Linked DNA regions of Homo sapiens: region 2 is linked to region 1. Evidence: promoter capture Hi-C in 16 types of primary human blood cells and fetal thymus (Javierre and others, 2016). All regions are on one chromosome and are shown on one strand. Each heading gives the region's core, a stretch centred on a gene start or on the middle of the fragment in contact. The rest is flanking DNA. Distances are from core to core; before and after follow the strand shown. Region 1 holds the start of ATXN2L (ataxin 2 like). Region 2 holds the start of CD2BP2 (CD2 cytoplasmic tail binding protein 2).

Evidence for each region. The method cuts DNA at HindIII sites, captures the fragments that hold promoters and counts their contacts. A CHiCAGO score of 5 or more calls a contact.
Region 2: the fragment with the promoter of CD2BP2 here is called in contact with the fragment with the promoter of ATXN2L in region 1 in 1 of 17 cell types (monocytes); the score reaches 7.3 in monocytes.

What each region holds. Positions count from the first base shown.
Region 1 is chr16:28,819,896-28,827,723 of GRCh38, forward strand. ATXN2L (ataxin 2 like) reads left to right here and starts at 3,104. Exons shown (of 22, transcript NM_007245.4): 1 at 3,104-3,663; 2 at 5,471-5,507; 3 at 5,729-5,785; 4 at 5,875-5,946; 5 at 6,345-6,495; 6 at 6,967-7,091. The coding sequence starts at 3,365. It overlaps LOC124903672 (a long non-coding RNA gene), which reads right to left and starts at 4,147. Exons shown (of 2, transcript XR_007065042.1): 1 at 3,999-4,147; 2 at 1-126. RefSeq lists enhancers at 2,383-3,119, 2,631-2,840 and a silencer at 3,161-4,310. The HindIII fragment of the contact is 7,883 bases long and covers 59-7,828 here.
Region 2 is chr16:30,350,513-30,358,340 of GRCh38, forward strand. It overlaps CD2BP2 (CD2 cytoplasmic tail binding protein 2), which reads right to left and starts at 4,796. Exons shown (of 7, transcript NM_006110.3): 1 at 4,700-4,796; 2 at 4,092-4,195; 3 at 3,672-3,810; 4 at 3,389-3,546; 5 at 2,856-3,288; 6 at 2,669-2,775; 7 at 261-2,583. The coding sequence starts at 4,169. The coding sequence ends at 2,473. It overlaps CD2BP2-DT (CD2BP2 divergent transcript), which reads left to right and starts at 4,922. Exons shown (of 2, transcript NR_184233.1): 1 at 4,922-5,108; 2 at 5,781-7,828. It overlaps TBC1D10B (TBC1 domain family member 10B), which reads right to left. Exons shown (of 9, transcript NM_015527.4): 9 at 6,590-7,828. The coding sequence ends at 7,432. RefSeq lists enhancers at 3,810-4,761, 3,846-5,045, 4,736-5,030, 4,762-5,713, 4,768-4,827 and 1 more. The HindIII fragment of the contact is 7,065 bases long and covers 458-7,522 here.

The DNA of each region.
Region 1 (7,828 bases), core at 1,854-4,353:
TGAAACTGATGATCAGCAGCTTCTCGATAAGATCTCAGAAGTTGGGTAAATGGGCTCAAGCTTATGCACCAAGAGGCAAAATGGCGGAGTTTAATGGTACATGCCCTTCCTCCAGGAATGCTAGATCTGTAAGGGAAGAACGTCTTAAGTGAGCATGTGCACTTCAGTATACTGAACACACTGTGCTTGTGGCCCCTCCAAGTGCTGGCAGGCCACCGTGCATGTGGACAGCCCATGCCAAGGTAGGAATCAGGGGAGAAGAGATGCAAACCGTAAATCCCTGGAAGCATGCCAGCATATGAAACCCCAAGTCAAAGGTCAAACCAGGGACTTGAATCTGTCAAGTCATTCACGCCTGGCCCTCTTCCAAGTGTACTTTACTTCCTTTCATTCCTGCTCTAAAACTTTTTAATAAACGTTCACTCCTGCTCTAAAACTTGCCTCTGTCTCTCCCTCTGCCTTATGCCCCTTGGTGGAATTCTTTCTTCTGAGGAGGCAAGAATTGAGGTTGCTGTAGACCCCATGCAAATTAGCTGCCACTAGCAAGGGCAAGGCAAGCTATGGAGAAAGAAGTTTCATGGGGCTAAAACTCAGAATTTGAGTGTGGAGCAGGATGGGGTAGATGGAAGGGGGTTAGAGTGCTCAGTGCTCACAATCTGTCAATGAGGGTAGAGAGGTGGCATGGCATCAGGTGGTCCAGGTAATGCCAGGAAAAAGCTGGACTGTGTTTGTTAGGGAACCCAGGAGACATGATGACCTTTAAAACACCATTTGGGCTGGGCGTGGTGGCTCATGCCTGTAATCCCAGCACTTTCGGAGGTCGAGGCGGGTGGATCACCTGAGGTCGGGAGTTCAAGATCAGCCTGACCAACATGGAGAAACCCCGTCTCCACTAAAAATACAAAATTAGCCGGGTGTGGTGGTGCATGACTGTAATCCCAGGTACTCAAGAGGCTGAGGCAGGAGAAACGCTTGAACCCGGGAGGCGGAGGTTGTGGTGAGCCGAGATCGCGCCATTGCACTCCAGCCTGGGCAATAAGAACAAAACTCCATCTCAAAAACAAACAAAAAAACATCATTTGGATCCACTCACCTTACAGATATTTCATTGAGTGCCTGCAGTGTGCTAGAGTACTGCAGAGCAAGAAATAAGTCAAGATCCTAACCCTTAGGGAGCTGACATTAGCAGGAAGACAGAATTAAAGGAGCTGTTAGAATACAGTGGGATAAATTGCTCGGCGAGCACACAGGAGGGGAAACTAGCACATCTGAAGGCAGGAGCGAGGCAGGGCGAAGGACTATTACCCAAAAAGTAAGGCAGTGTTGTAGCTAGGTGTGCATGTGTTTGGTGCAGGGGCTGGGAAGAGTTCCAATGCTAACATTTAGAGCGAAGAGATTGAGACATTGAGAGTTTCGCTGGGATTAAGACCACATGGACTTAACAGCTCCACTCCATTCTCCACGTTGCAAAGAGTAAACCTTTAAAAATGCAAATCTGACCTCTTTTCACTTGTTTTTTTGTTTGTTTTGGGGGGAAGGAGTCTTGCTCTGTCACCCAGGCTGGAGTGCAGTGGTGCGATCTGGGCTCACGGCAACCTCCGCCTCCTTGGTTCAAGTGATTCTCCTGCCTCAGCCTCCTGAGTAGCTGGGATTACAGGCATGCACCACCACGCCTAGCTAATTTTTGCATTTTTAGTAGAGACAGGGTTTCACCATGTTGGCCAGGCTGATCTCAAACTCCTGACCTCAAACCTCCCAAAGTACTGGGATTACAGACCATGCCCAGCCTCTTTTCACTTTCTTAAATAAGCTCCCCACTGCTTTGAGGATAATGTCCGTGTCTCTTACAAGACTTGGGAGCCTTTAAAACCTGATCCCAGATTAGCTACCTCTTCCCCCCTTTAATTTTATGCTTAGGACAAGCTGAGTTTTTCTTAGTTTGTCATATCCTATTTCCCTGCCTAGAAACCCATCTCCCCCTGCCCTCTTATCAGTTTTTTTTTATAATTTAAATTTTTTTTTTTTTGTAGAGACAAAGTCTCACTTTGTTGCCTAGGCTGGTCTCAAACTCCTGGCCTTAAACGATCCTTCTGCCTCGGACTCCCAAAATGTTAGGATTACAGGTATGAGCCACTGCGCCCGGCCCTCCTGTCCCTTATCTGGGTCTCCCAAAACTGGATTAAGATTAGGTGTCACTCCCATTTGCTCTTGTAGTCCTCTGTGCTTCACCTACTAGATCTCGTCAAATTCTCTGAATTCACCACTAGCATGAACTCCTCCAGAGCAGGAAGCAGTTTAATTATCCTTGTGTCCAAAACAACTAACTGAATACTCCAATGCCCAACTCATTTTGAATGAATGAAGCTGCCTTCATTGCAGGGTCGGGTGGAGGATTTTGAACTCGGAACTTTGGCCTTCAGTCTTTGTTATTACAGTTTAAAGATTCATTCTCGGGCATGGAGGAACAATTTAGGTCAAAATCACAAAAATCTGAAATAATTTAGGACGAGGCGTAAATTTATCTGCAAAGATCAACACGCTCAAACGAATCACTAATGCTCATCAGTCTTTTACTTAAAGCAAACAAGGTGGAGGGTAGCTCCTTGCGAAACCTACCACCTGCCTAAAAGCGCAGTGGCTCGGGTGGTCCAGTCCCGGAGACTTTCTTGGCACTTAAGGCTCTGCCCACGGGCCGCCAAGTGGCGGAAGAGCCTCACGCACGACGTGCCGCCTCACACTCCCGCGGAGGCATCGCGACGCAGCGACGGCGTGGGCGGAGAGGCCGGCCCTTCCTCTGGCGCCTTCGGCTCCTCCCCCTGCGCCTCACACGCTCATTGTGAAGCGACAGCGGCCGCCGGCTTCTAAGGCGGTTTGAGACCTTAAGACCCTAAATCCTTGGCGCGCGTGAGCGCCCGCGCCGCTCCTTACCCACTCCCAGGGCTAGGGGTGCGAGGTTCACCGACTTGATTCTCTCCCACTTTCCCGCCGGGAGCTAACCGCGCCGGTGTGCGCGGCACCTCGCGCCACTGCTCGCTCCTGGCCCCCCCCCCCCCCCCCCCCCCCCGGGAGCTCCCACCCGCGCGCTCCTCCCTCTCCGCTCCCCGGCGACGCGCACGCGCGCCAGCCCGGCTCGCGCCCTCTCGCTTTCCTCCAGCCGCGAGACCCCCTCCCCTTCCGCCTCGCGGCGCTTCCTCGCGCCGCGGTCTTCTCTCTCCACCCCCGACACCGCGGGGCTCCCCCCGCCCGCCCACGGCGGGCCCCGGCTGCCCGATCCCCCTCGCTTCCCGCGCTCTCCAGCGGGGCCCCAGCCCCGGCCCCCTCTCTCCCTCCCTTCTCTCTAATTCCCCTTCCGGACGCTGCCATCATGTTGAAGCCTCAGCCGCTACAACAGCCCTCCCAGCCCCAGCAGCCGCCCCCCACGCAACAGGCCGTGGCCCGTCGGCCCCCCGGGGGCACCAGCCCTCCCAACGGCGGCCTCCCGGGGCCGCTGGCCACCTCTGCGGCTCCTCCCGGGCCTCCAGCGGCCGCCTCCCCCTGCCTGGGGCCTGTGGCCGCTGCCGGGAGCGGGCTCCGCCGGGGAGCCGAAGGCATCTTGGCGCCGCAGCCGCCGCCGCCGCAGCAACACCAGGAGAGGCCGGGGGCAGCCGCCATCGGCAGCGCCAGGTGAGAAGGGTGGGCTCCGGGCGAGGGAGCCGCGGCCACCCAGAGGCTGTGGCTCGGTTCCGGTGGGGCGGACCCCGACCCGGCACCGTCAGGGGCACCGGCTGGGTGGGGAGTCCCCGTGAAGCTGGGGGAGGGCCCCCTCAGGTCCGAACAGGTCGGACGGAAAGGGTCCCCGGGCGGCCACCGGAGCACTGAGGGGCCGCGCTCGGCTCTCGGGGCCTAGTCAGGGCTCGCAGCCCCGGCCTTCAGGGGAGGCGGGGCGCATCCCGCCGGCGCCGTCGGAACGGGGAGTTGGGGGGGGGCAAGGAGCTGATCGGGGTCCCCGGTTCCATTACCACGAAGGGTCTCGCGGTCCCCGGCTTCAGCCAATGGGGAGTCTGCTGCGGGAAGGGGTCCCCGGCCGTAGCCAATGGAGGGGGGCGCGCGGCCCACAGTTTGGCCAATGGGGAGGGAGGGACTTGGGAGCGGGTTGCTGCCTCCCCCTTCCCGGTCTGGCCAGTAGGAGGGGAGCGAGGTGGGCGGGGGGACGGAAGGAGGGATGACTGGGAGGACTGCGGGCCGGGAGCCTCTGGCGCGCGCGCCCCCTTCCCGTACGTGCGCGTGGATGCTCGGTCTCATGACCCGGGCATTCGCGCGCCCCGGGAACACCTAGGGCAGGGACTAGTTCGTGGAGGGGCTCGTCTGGTGGCAGTGCATGAGTAGTGGAGGCCCTGCTCAGTTTTTCCTGTGCGAGTGTGTGTGTGTTAATGGAATTAAGAGTGGCAGCACACGCAGGCGCAGTGGGCTCTGATCGCTGGAGGTGGGGGTTCGGAAAGTCCCGTGGGTTTTAGTGCGCAGGCGCAGACCGGGCGAGGCCTCCCGGTGGATGGCTTTTGCGGCTGCGCTGTCCCCCAGCCCCGCCAGCGGCCCCCTCTTCGCCCTCAACCGCCGGTTACATCAGCCAGCGACGAGCAGGGTTACCTGGCGATTGGTGATCCCCGCAGAGTGGGTAACGGGCTGAATGAGTCATGAGGTCGAGGGGATGGGGTGTGGAGGGGATACCCCTCCTCCCACAGTTTTGAGGCGTCAGGCTGCTGAAAATGATTGTCTTTTCTGTTTGGGAGGTAATGTACCTGAGCTAGGTAGTTCCAAAGCTGCACTCCTGGAGCTTTTGCCCTCACAGCTGGCGTGGCTTTTTGGTTAATACTGTAGCATTGATCTGTTGGTAGCCTGCAGCCCTAGCCCCTTTCTCGTTGGTTCTTAGAGCAATTGACAACCATTGTTGATTGAGATCTTTTTGCTGGCATTTGGAGGAAATGTGTTTGCTGGCTTATTAATGTCTATTTTTTTCTTCCTCTACAAGGTGACAGTTTGAAAATCTTATTTATTGGCCGGGCGCAGTGGCTCACGCCTGTAATGCCAGCACTTTAGGAGGCAAAGGTGGGAGGATCCCTTGAGCCCAAGGAGATCGATACCAGCCTGGGCAACACAGATGGGAAATCCCATCTCTACTAAAAATTAAAAAAAAAAAAAGCCAGGAGTGGTGGTTCGTACCTATAGTCTCAGCCACTCGGGAGGCTGAGGCAGGAAGATCACTTGAGCCTTGGAGGTTGAGGCTACAGTGAACTGAGATCACGCCACTGCACCCCAGCCTGGGCAACAGAGGGAGACCCTGTCTCAAAAAAAATAGAAAAATCTTACTGATTAACAATTTTGTAGTCTAAATCAGCATCATCAGGTGGTATATACTTCTAGGATTTAACATTAATTTCATAGTGGTCTAAGAGGGCTTGAACAGACTTAAGTAATTTCTTGTTTTCTTTTATAGGGGACAGAGCACAGGAAAGGGACCCCCACAGTCACCTGTGAGTGTCTTCTCCCACCCTGTTTAAGATACATAGACCTAAAAGATGCATAATGTGGGAATATAGGGCACATTAGGTCTAGATAGAGTCTAATGTACTCAGGAGGGCTGTGGGCCCGGCACACACAAGGCAGAATGAGTAGAGTGCGGCGGGCATTTAGAAAAGAAAATGAGGTGTTGACTGATTACTCCTTTAATTCTCCCTCTTATGTTAACTGACAGGTGTTTGAAGGCGTCTACAACAATTCCAGAATGCTGCATTTCCTTACAGCTGTTGTGGTAAGTTGGTACTTAACCCCCGGGTTGTTTAAGGAACGTAATGCATCTACTTTCTGGAGACACTCTTCTTATTTTTCCCACTCTGCCAGGGCTCCACTTGTGATGTAAAGGTGAAAAATGGTACCACTTATGAGGGTATCTTCAAGACGCTAAGCTCAAAGGTCAGTGTACTCAAATTTAATTATTTTTGGAGTTGCAGAGTAGGAGGAGAATGAAATAGGCTCATTGAAGGTGTCAATTGGGTGATGTCAGAGTATGCCTTTAGTTGTTTCTGTAGGCCTGTGCTGAATAGTGCTGCAGGGAAAAAAGACAAATTTGAGGGCTGGGTACTTTAATGTTAAAATATTTAAGTTTAAATTTTTGTGAGACTTTTGCTAAGTCCTGTGGCTGATGTTGAGAAAACAATGCACTTGGTTCCAAGCATGTTGAGGATGTAGTGTTGTGAAAAGTTTGGGAAGGGTAAGAGAAATCCAGTTCTATTTAAGAGAAATCCAGTTCTATTTTTGCCTTCACTTTTCTTGAAACTGACCCATGGGTGTGGGGAATGGGGTGTTTGTAGTTTGAACTAGCCGTGGATGCTGTGCACCGGAAAGCATCTGAGCCAGCAGGTGGCCCTCGTCGGGAGGACATTGTGGACACCATGGTGTTTAAGCCAAGTGATGTCATGCTTGTTCACTTCCGAAATGTTGACTTCAACTATGCTACTAAAGGTATTGTCCTAGGCTGTTACCTCAGACCTGCTCTGTGTGCATAGAGGACAGAGGGTAGTTTGTGTGCAGGTGGAACATGGTGATGTGTTTGGTTTGTTTTTTTGTTTTTGTTTGTTTGTTTTGCTTTAATGCCTTTTTTTTCCTGAGCGAAGTGGGTGGATTTTTCTTCTTAAAAATATGTCTTGATGTCTAATATATAATGCGATGAATTCCTGTCTGTGTTGTGGTTCTTCATATTTTCTTTGCTTGGTTTTTAACTTCTTTTTTCTTTGGAATCATAGTACTGATAGACTTTTTATACTCTTCTTCTCTTGCCTCCCCACCCCCTGGCCATCCTAACACACGGGCACACGTACTCTGGACTTCTTAAACTTTGTTCCTGAACTACTTACGGAGAGTGGGGTTGGGGGATATTGGAAAGAAGTCTGTGAAATATAGCCTGACTCCTGATCTTCACCTCTGCCCCCACAGACAAGTTCACCGATTCAGCCATTGCCATGAACTCGAAAGTGAATGGGGAACACAAAGAGAAGGTGCTTCAGCGCTGGGAGGGGGGTGACAGCAACAGCGACGACTATGACCTCGAGTCTGACATGGTATAGCCTCCTTCCCTGAGAACTTGGGAGCTGGACAGACAGAATGGGTTGTTGACAGTGAGGTTCATTTGAGTGGGGAGGGAAATATTTACTGTTGCCCATTGATGGTAGTCAGATAACAAATAGAAAGGTATAGAAAATAGCAAAGTAAAAATATCTATTCTTAGCTGGGTGCAGTGGCTCATGTTTGTAATCCCAGCACTTTGGGAGGCCAAGGCCGGTGGGTCACTTGAGGCAAGGATTTCGAGACCAGTCTGGGCAACATGGTGAAACCCTGTCTCAACAAGATATATAAAAGCTATCAAGGTTTGGTGGCATGTACCTGTAGTCCCAGCTACTTGGGAGGCTGAAGTGGAAGGATCACTTGAGCCCAGGGAGGTCGAGGCTACAGTGAGCTGTGATCATACCACTGCACTCCAGCCTGGGTGGACCGTGTCACACGCAACAAAACCAAAACATCAACTTACTCTCTTACTATCTATAATTAACCACTCCTAGCATTTGCATCACGTTATTTTTCAACATAACAAAAAGTATAGATTAATGTGTAGGCCCATTTCTCTTCCCAAAATCAGCTACTCTGAGGCATTTAAAATCTCATGAGGCTGAGCGCAGTGGCTCATGCCTGTAGTCCCAGCTACTTGGGAGGCCAAGGCAGGAGCTCCGATCACTTGAGCCCAGGAGTTTGAGGCTGCTGTAAGCTGAGATTGTGCCACTGGACTCCAGTCTGAGCGACA
Region 2 (7,828 bases), core at 3,546-6,045, 1.5 Mb after region 1:
CACCCCTACTGGGTGACAGTAACACCCTGTCTCTAAAAACAAAACAAACAAAAAGCCAAGGAGTGCTGTTTCAGATGTGCTATAAAGGCCACCCTAGCAAGAGGCAGCCACATTTATAAGTGCTGACAGGGACCTGAAATAGCAATGTGGTCACAGGAAGGGAGAACTTAGTGAGATCGGGTGGTTCATGAGGTGTCCCCTGGATGCATGAGTAGTTGTTTCCTATTGGGGCTGTTAACAAATTACCACAAACTGAGAGGTTGAAAACCACACCAATTTATTATCTTACAGTTCTAGAGGTCAGGAGTCCAAAATGGTTTTCACCAGGCTGAAGTCTTGTCAGTGCGGCTTTGTTTCTCCACGGAGGCTCTGGGGCAGAATCCAATGCCTTTTCCAGCTCCTCCAGGGGCCACCTCATCGCCTGGCCCCAGGCCTTCTTGCCATCTTCACAGCCAGAAGCTTCCTTGCTTCATGCGCAGACCCTCGTGACTCCCCTTCCCTTATAAGGGCCCCCATGATTACTCAGGGCCCACCTCAACCATCCACGGTCATCTCCCCACCACGAAATCCTGAACTGAAGCACAGGCGCCGGGTCCCTTTTGCCACGCAAGGTAACACTTTCCCACGTCCTGGGGTTCCAAACCTGGACATCTCTGGGGGCTGTTATTCCACCCACCGTCATCAGTGAGGCGCCTTCAGGAGGGGCTGTGAGGTCACGTGAGGTCGGCTTCAGAAGGGCTAGGTTTGAGTGCCTGGAGGACACTGGCAGGAGGCGCCCCTGGGCTCCATCCATTTACCACGCACGCACTCAGCACCCCTGAGACCATCCCTGGGGCCTACAGGAGAACCCTGTACCTCAGCAGCCCTGAAACCTGCTTTCCACTTCCGGACCTTTCTGAAATCAAGACGCATCTTTAGATCAATGGCATCTTACTGTGTCACCGGCAGGCCTCTTCTTTCTTAGTGACGTTTAAAGGAAGGTATCTTACCCCTGATGGCTTCTTGGAGTGAATGAAATTCCGGTGTGAGCAGGCACTAGAAGGGGCCTCACAAGAGTGTCAGGTGACCCCACTCCGCCCTGGCCCCCAAGTCTTTCCTAGTTGCTCATCTGGCCCTTTCTGACCTGGGATCCCAAGTGTCCTGCAGCTCCAGTGCCCAGACCCCCATAACTAACAGACCCCACTAAAGCCACACACATGCTCAGCTCTCCAACCACGGTGGGGTCCAGGAGCCACCCCTCCCGCTAGGTGTGCCTAAACCATGGGGATCTGACTCAGGGGCTCTCTCTCGGCCTGGCTGCAAGCTGAAAACACCTGGGGGCTTCCAAAATGCCCAATGCCTGGGCCACAACCTAGACCAGCTCAATCTGAATCTCCAAAGAGATATTACAGCTCCCCAGGAGACTCCAAGGGGCAGCCAGAGTGCAAAACCGGAAGAAACCATCTAACGTGGGGCAAGGGAGGCGTAAGGCAATGCTGGTGGGGCGTGGAGGTGGAGGGTGCCAGGCCCAGGCTATAGAATTACATCTGTCTATTTCCCATGCCCCTGCCACCAGACTCTGAATTCCTGGAAGGGGACCAACCCAGCTACCTCAGTTTCCTCAAGGCACTAGCCCTGTGCCAGGCACATAGTGGGGTCCAGAGAATGTAGGCCGCAGGGCCTCCAAGGCCAGGCAGCAAAGGCTTTGTGCCAAGAAAGGTCTGGGAAAGGAGCCCACTGGGTCTGGGCCAGCCCTTTGATTCCTGTGATCTCCAGTGAGTCACTGCCCCTCTCTGTGCCAGTACAATGCACACTTGGCCCACACTTGGCCACTGAGTTTGCACTTCACTGAAGGGCTGTGGGAACGACGGCAAGGATAGAGGAAAGCCAGATTAGGGAAGACACTGGCTCTCAGAACCTTAGGGATCTCGGTCTTGGGCCACTCATCCCACTTCTGCCCAGCATCTAAGGAGCTTGAGAGGGTGAAGCGAGAGTAAGAGGGTTCCATGCTCACCCCCAACAGGGTCCCAATGTCTTCTCGATGCCCTGGTCCTTCTGGGCCTAAAACATCCACTTCTGGGGCTCTGTCCTCTGGTGGCTACAAGGATAAAGAATCTGAGGTCCTGAAAGCCAAAGACCTAAGAGGAATCGAACAAGAAACCTGGGAGAGGAGCACAGAGCAGCGCAGTTGGGGGTGTTTACACGGCAAGCAGAGTCCAGGCAGGGAGGCCACAGGATACCTGACAGGCACCTCCAAGAAGGATCTTCATGGGAGTACTCAGGGACCAAGACAAGTCCAAAGGGACTGTGGAGAAGGCCCCTGGCTTCTGGCCATCAGCACAGCCAAGGCCCCAGTACACAACTAAAGGCTTTTATTGGGAAAGGGAAATTGACTGAAAAATGGCCTCCAATTTCCTCGCTGCCTGAGACACTTGGTGCCTCCTCCACAAAGTCCAGGAAAGAAGGGCCCACCAAACTGGGCCCCCAGCAGGCTCAGGTGTAGAGGTCAAAGTCAATGCGTTTGGAGTTGTAGAACTGACCACCAGGGGGGTCCAGCTTCCGGCAATAAACACCGTCCGGGAAGTAGCCTTCACTCACCCAGGTCTGCAAGGAGAGGGCAGAGCTGGGGAACAACTGACAGGAGTGGGGGAAGCAGGGACAAGGCAGGAGGAGGGAGAAAGCAGCTCACCTGCATCTGGGCGCTGGTGAAGGGCCCATACAGCTCGGCATCCCCCGTGTTCTCCCACTTATATTCCCACATCACATCCACCAGACCATCTCCCCGCGACTCTGCTTCTAAAATAACAGGCAAAGCCATTTGGCCTCCAGTGTCTCACTTCCTACCCACTGCCCCCTCCTCTGTCCTCCAAGCTCACCTCCTCTCTGGGTAGGGGTTGGGGTCTCCAGTTCCTCCTCCGCCAACTCCTCAGCGAACATGTCCAGGGAGGGTGGGGGTGTGGGATTGTGGGGTCCTAGGGTCTGACACCCCAAACCCTTCAGACGCATAGCCAACCGTTCCCTTGTTTCCTGGTACACACCAAGGTTGCCCCGGGCCACCATCTGGTCGGCCAACCCGGAGAGCCGGTCCAGGCGCTGAGGGGAACTGGGTTGCCCAGGCCCCTTTCTCCCTTTGCCTCCTCCTCGGGCCCCCAGACGCCTCAGTGCCCCAGCCACTGTCTCTCTAGGCAATAGGAGCTCCAAAAGTCCCTCCAAGAGGGCTTGGGCACTCATTGAGGTCTGGCCCAAGCTGTCCTCCTCCTCCGAGTCTGAGGCCTGGCGCTGGCCAGGTGGCCGCTCCCGGATCTTCACCTGTAATGGGAAGATGGAGTGATTTCCCACCAACTGCCACGGGAGCAGGCCCAGCATCTGCCACTCCCAGGCCCCAGCCACGCCAGCCCCTGGGCCGCACCCAGTCAATGTTGTCCAGCCAGCTGTCTCGGATCTGAGCATCCCGGTTCAGGAAGTAGTTGCCATCGGCATCAAAGTGGCCTTCCTCCATCTCCTCCTGCAGGTTAAAGGGTGTGATCCGAACACCCCCCTCGCTGGGGAGTGTGGCTGCCTCCTGACCTGCACCAAAGACACAGGTGCCCTTTTCCAGGCATGGAAAAAAGAGACCGGAGCCTCCCTCGCTCCACACCACCAGAGGCCCCTACTTGTTTTTCCAGCAGAGTGTATTCTTGGGTACAGCTTACCTTCTACATCCTCTGAGGCCAAGATGTCATATTTGCTGGACCCCCCATCATCATCATCCTCCTCCTCATCGCTATCCAAAGAGTGTTTGCCTTTAAAGCGGCTCCCAGGACCCCCTGACCCAGCCACAGGGTCCACCAGCTGTGAGCAGGAGCCAGAAAGTTGAGAAATGCAGGTTACTGGCTACCTCCCCAAATACTTCCGGATCTGGACCCAAATATTCCCCAAATATTTCAGGATCTCGACTACTTCCCCAAATATTTCAGGAGCCACACTAAAGACGCTCCCAACCCATTCCTCAGAGAACCTGAAAAAACTAGGCTTTTCTCTGCCTGCCCGCCCCGCCCCTCTCCCGCCAGCTTTCTTCCTCTTCAGGCTTCTAGCTCCTCTTTCCCCCACACAAAGCAGTCTGGCCCCCTCACCTTCTTCTTGGGGACAATGATTTCATCCTCATCCTCCTCATCTCCCACGCCTTGGAAGGTCACTTTCCTCTTTGGCATGACGGGGCAAAGAGGTGTTTCTCAAGCTGAGGAAAGGATGCAGAGGAAGGGAACCGGGTGAGGAGGGGACTCGCCAACAGACGCAGCACAGCAAACATTTTTCCTGGTCTGTGACAGGTACAGTTTGGGAGCGGAGGGAGCACAAAAGCAGGGGCCGAAAGGAAGCTGGCAGCCAGGAGGCCTCCAGGACTTGGGTCTAGCATCCGCGAGTTAAACGGGGCGGGGACGGAGGAGCGGACCCTCTGGATCCCCCGACCCTGGCTGAAAGGAGACAGGCTTCACCACGTGACCGCCCCCAACTCCAGCCCCCGCAGTCTGCGCGCCACCGGCTCCACGGGCTGACCCCCGCTCTCTACCCTGGCTCTCTCGGAGCTCGCCGGGCCCCGGCAGACCCAGGACCTGGCGCTCTCGCCACCCCGTTCCTCCCTGCTCCGAACTCCCAATTCCGTGTGGTGAGCCCCAACTGTCCCGGGCTGTGTACAACTTAGAGGGCCACGGGGATTCGGGCGGTCCCACCCTCGCGCACTCACCTGGGAATCCGCGGAAGGCGAGGTGGAAAAAAGAAGAGATGCTTGCGCCAGGGCTACATCCGGGGCACCCGGCCGCCATCACCCGGAAGAGGACTGCGGAAGGCGCCCGGGAAGCCCGGAAGTGGCTTCACTCGGGTTAGGGAACTAACTGGAAGAGCGGGCGGAAGTATGCGATAAGCGAGCGAAGACGCCTCCACCCTCTCTCCCGCCAGAAGTGACGTCAGTCACGTGGGAGGACAATGGTGAGAAGAGGGAACCTAAGAATTCCTGGACTCTGACTGGGCGTGAGAAATGGCCGGAAGTAGCTTCGAGTCCGTCATTCAAGCAGTAGAGGCTCTGGAGAAAAACTGGAGCGCATCTGCTTAAAGGGCCGCCCAGGGTCAGGATGGAGGGGCAAAGTCCGAGCAGGGTCAGTGGGTTGCTGCTCCGTTTTCCTGTCCTGGGTTCAAGTCACCCTTCCCCCAGGGCTAAGGGCTCAGCGCCCCTACCGTCTCGTTAGAAATCCTGCCTTCCCATTCCTATGGTCCAGTGGTCAGCCCTCCTAGCCTGAGAGGTGCAGCCTTGCCTCTCCGAGGGGAAGCCTGACTCTCCCGATGGCCAGCCTGGGGCCCCTGGACGGCTCTCCGGGCACTTTCTGAACACACCTCCCTTTAGGACCCAGGGGAAATAATTTGTCCCACGCCCATACCCTGGGCGAGTTCCTGGTTTCTGAGGTGGGAGAGCCATCACTGGAGAGGTGGCATTGGCGCCAGTACTCAGGCCAGAAGCCCCTTGTGCCCTGCTCTCAGGTAGGCCTGGAAAAGGGCAACAGTGCCTCTCTGCAGCATGAAGCCCCCCTGAGCAAACAGGGCCTAGCAACTCCTGCCCAGGTAGCGGAATGTGGCCCAAGCAGAAGGGGGAATTGGGGAGGTAGCGGGGATCAGCCCCTGTGCTGGGACCCCTAGCTCTTGACACTCGGAGCCTGCATCCCCCTAAGCCAAGACTGTGCGCAGGCAGCACGTGCTGAAGCCAGACGAGGACAGCATGAGAGTTCCCCTACTCTTCCCCCAGGCAACTAGATGGGCCACTTCTCTCTCCCTAGGGGTTTCCTCCCATATTGGATCACGATGAAAACTGCACAGAAAGTCCGTGCTCAGTTTCTTCCATGGTTACAGAACACAGGCCCCAGACCAGGAAGGCATTCTGCTAAAGAAGGGGACCCGAAACCTCAGCTACCAGCGCCGATGGTTCATCCTCCGAGGAAACCTCCTCTTCTACCTAGAACACTAGACCGACCATGCACCCCTGAGCCTCATCCTGTTAGAGAACTGCCAGGTGGAACCACACCTTAAGGCTGCAGAACCCTATGCCTTTACCATCCTGACCCCTGGGGTGGAGGGCACAGGTGGGCGGGCCTACAAGCTGGCTGCAGAAACCCAGGAAGAGCTGGAGACTTGGCTGTGGGCACTGGCTGGCGCGAGCTGGAGGCGGCTGGCTGGGCTGCTGTCCCCCCTCCCCCCCCACCAAAACCCAATACTGGGAGCTGTGCCAGGCAACTGGCCAAGAACCCATCTCATCCCCAGAGGACAGTGGCTTTCTAGCCACTGTGAGTACCCCCTCCAGCTTCCAGGAGTTGCATGAGCACTTTGGGAAGGAGATCCGGGTGCTGCACGTGGTACATAGAGAGCTCCAGGCAGCCAGTGACAATGGAGACAGCAGATCCCAGGCAAAGATGGAGCAGGAGCTCAACCAGTGTCTGATGAGTGACTGAGAGATGGACCCAAAGCTAAGAGGTACCTACTTGCCAAGACAGCAGACTGCTTCAACAGAGACCCAGGTCCTGGCTCTGTCCCTCCCTCCCTCGTCCTTACCCCATCCCCCCCTCATCAAATAACAAGGCAGAAAACAGGCCCAGGTACAACAGCAGGTTCTTTTCCAATTCCTCAAAGCGCTGCATGGGGTGGGGGCAGAGACAGAAGAGAATGTAAACATTGGGTTCCACCCCCTGGAGCTCAAGGGAAGACCCTTACCCAGATAGGGACTAACTGGAGGGGTGGAAGGGAACAAGGTGAAAGGTATGGGTCCTGGTGAGACAAAAGCAGGGGGGCCTGAGAACACAGAGCAAGGTGGGTTTGGAGGGAGCACAGCAGGGTGCAGGAAGGGAGATGGGGGACATTTCCTATTCCAGTGCATGTCCCCTTAAATAAACTGGGTACAGGAGCATTATGGAAGGAGAACCAAAGGACAGAAGACAAAGCGAGCACCCCCACCCCAGGCCAACGCCATCCTCTGTACACAATTACAACACAGGTCCAGAATGAGAGCCCTGGCCAGGAAGTGGGGGAGACAGGGAGGGCTGAAGACAGGGAAAAGGAAGCCAGCTCCACCTCATGGTAAGGGGAGCTATGGAGTGTAAGAATCTGAAACTGCTGACTCCCATCACCAGGAGTCACCCCTGGGATGACAACGGGCCATTCAGGACAGCACCTAGGAGGGGACCCAGAGGGAACTGGGGCAGGAGCGACAGAGACCCCAGCTGAGCCTCATGGGAGATGAGAGGCTCCAGACTCATTTGCAGCTGCCCATCTGTCCTGCCCGTGTAGGGATCAGCAGCTGGCGAGGAGATGGGGAACCAAGCCACTTTCCCCAGCAAGGGACAGCCTGACAAGGTGCTAGGGGGTGGCACCTTGGGCCAGGCCTGTTCTTGGCTGAGGGAAAGAGGGGGGCCATGCAGTCCAGCCCCAGGGCAGAGGTCAGAAGTAAGCGTCCTGCCGGGCCTCGGCTGAGGGCCTGTCCCCACCATCATGGGGGCCTGGGGGCCCATCTGCCTTTCGACGCAGCGAAAGCTTCCGGCCTTGAGCCTTCTTCTCCTGCTTCTGCCGCTCCTTCTCCTGCTTCTCTCGCTCCTTTTCCTGCTTCTCTCGCTCTTTCTCCTGCTTCTGCCGCTCCTTCTCCCGCTCCTTCTCCTGTTTCTGCCGCTCCTTCTCCTGTTTCTGCCGCTCCTTCTCCTGCTTCCGGGTCTCCTTGCTGGAACCCAAGGGGGTGCTATTGCCAGTGGGTGAGGGAAGGGATGGATGCAGTCCCTCAGCAGTGACCACAGGCCCTGGGGCAGGCCCAGCACTGGCTCTGCGGACGGGGGGCGGCGGGGAC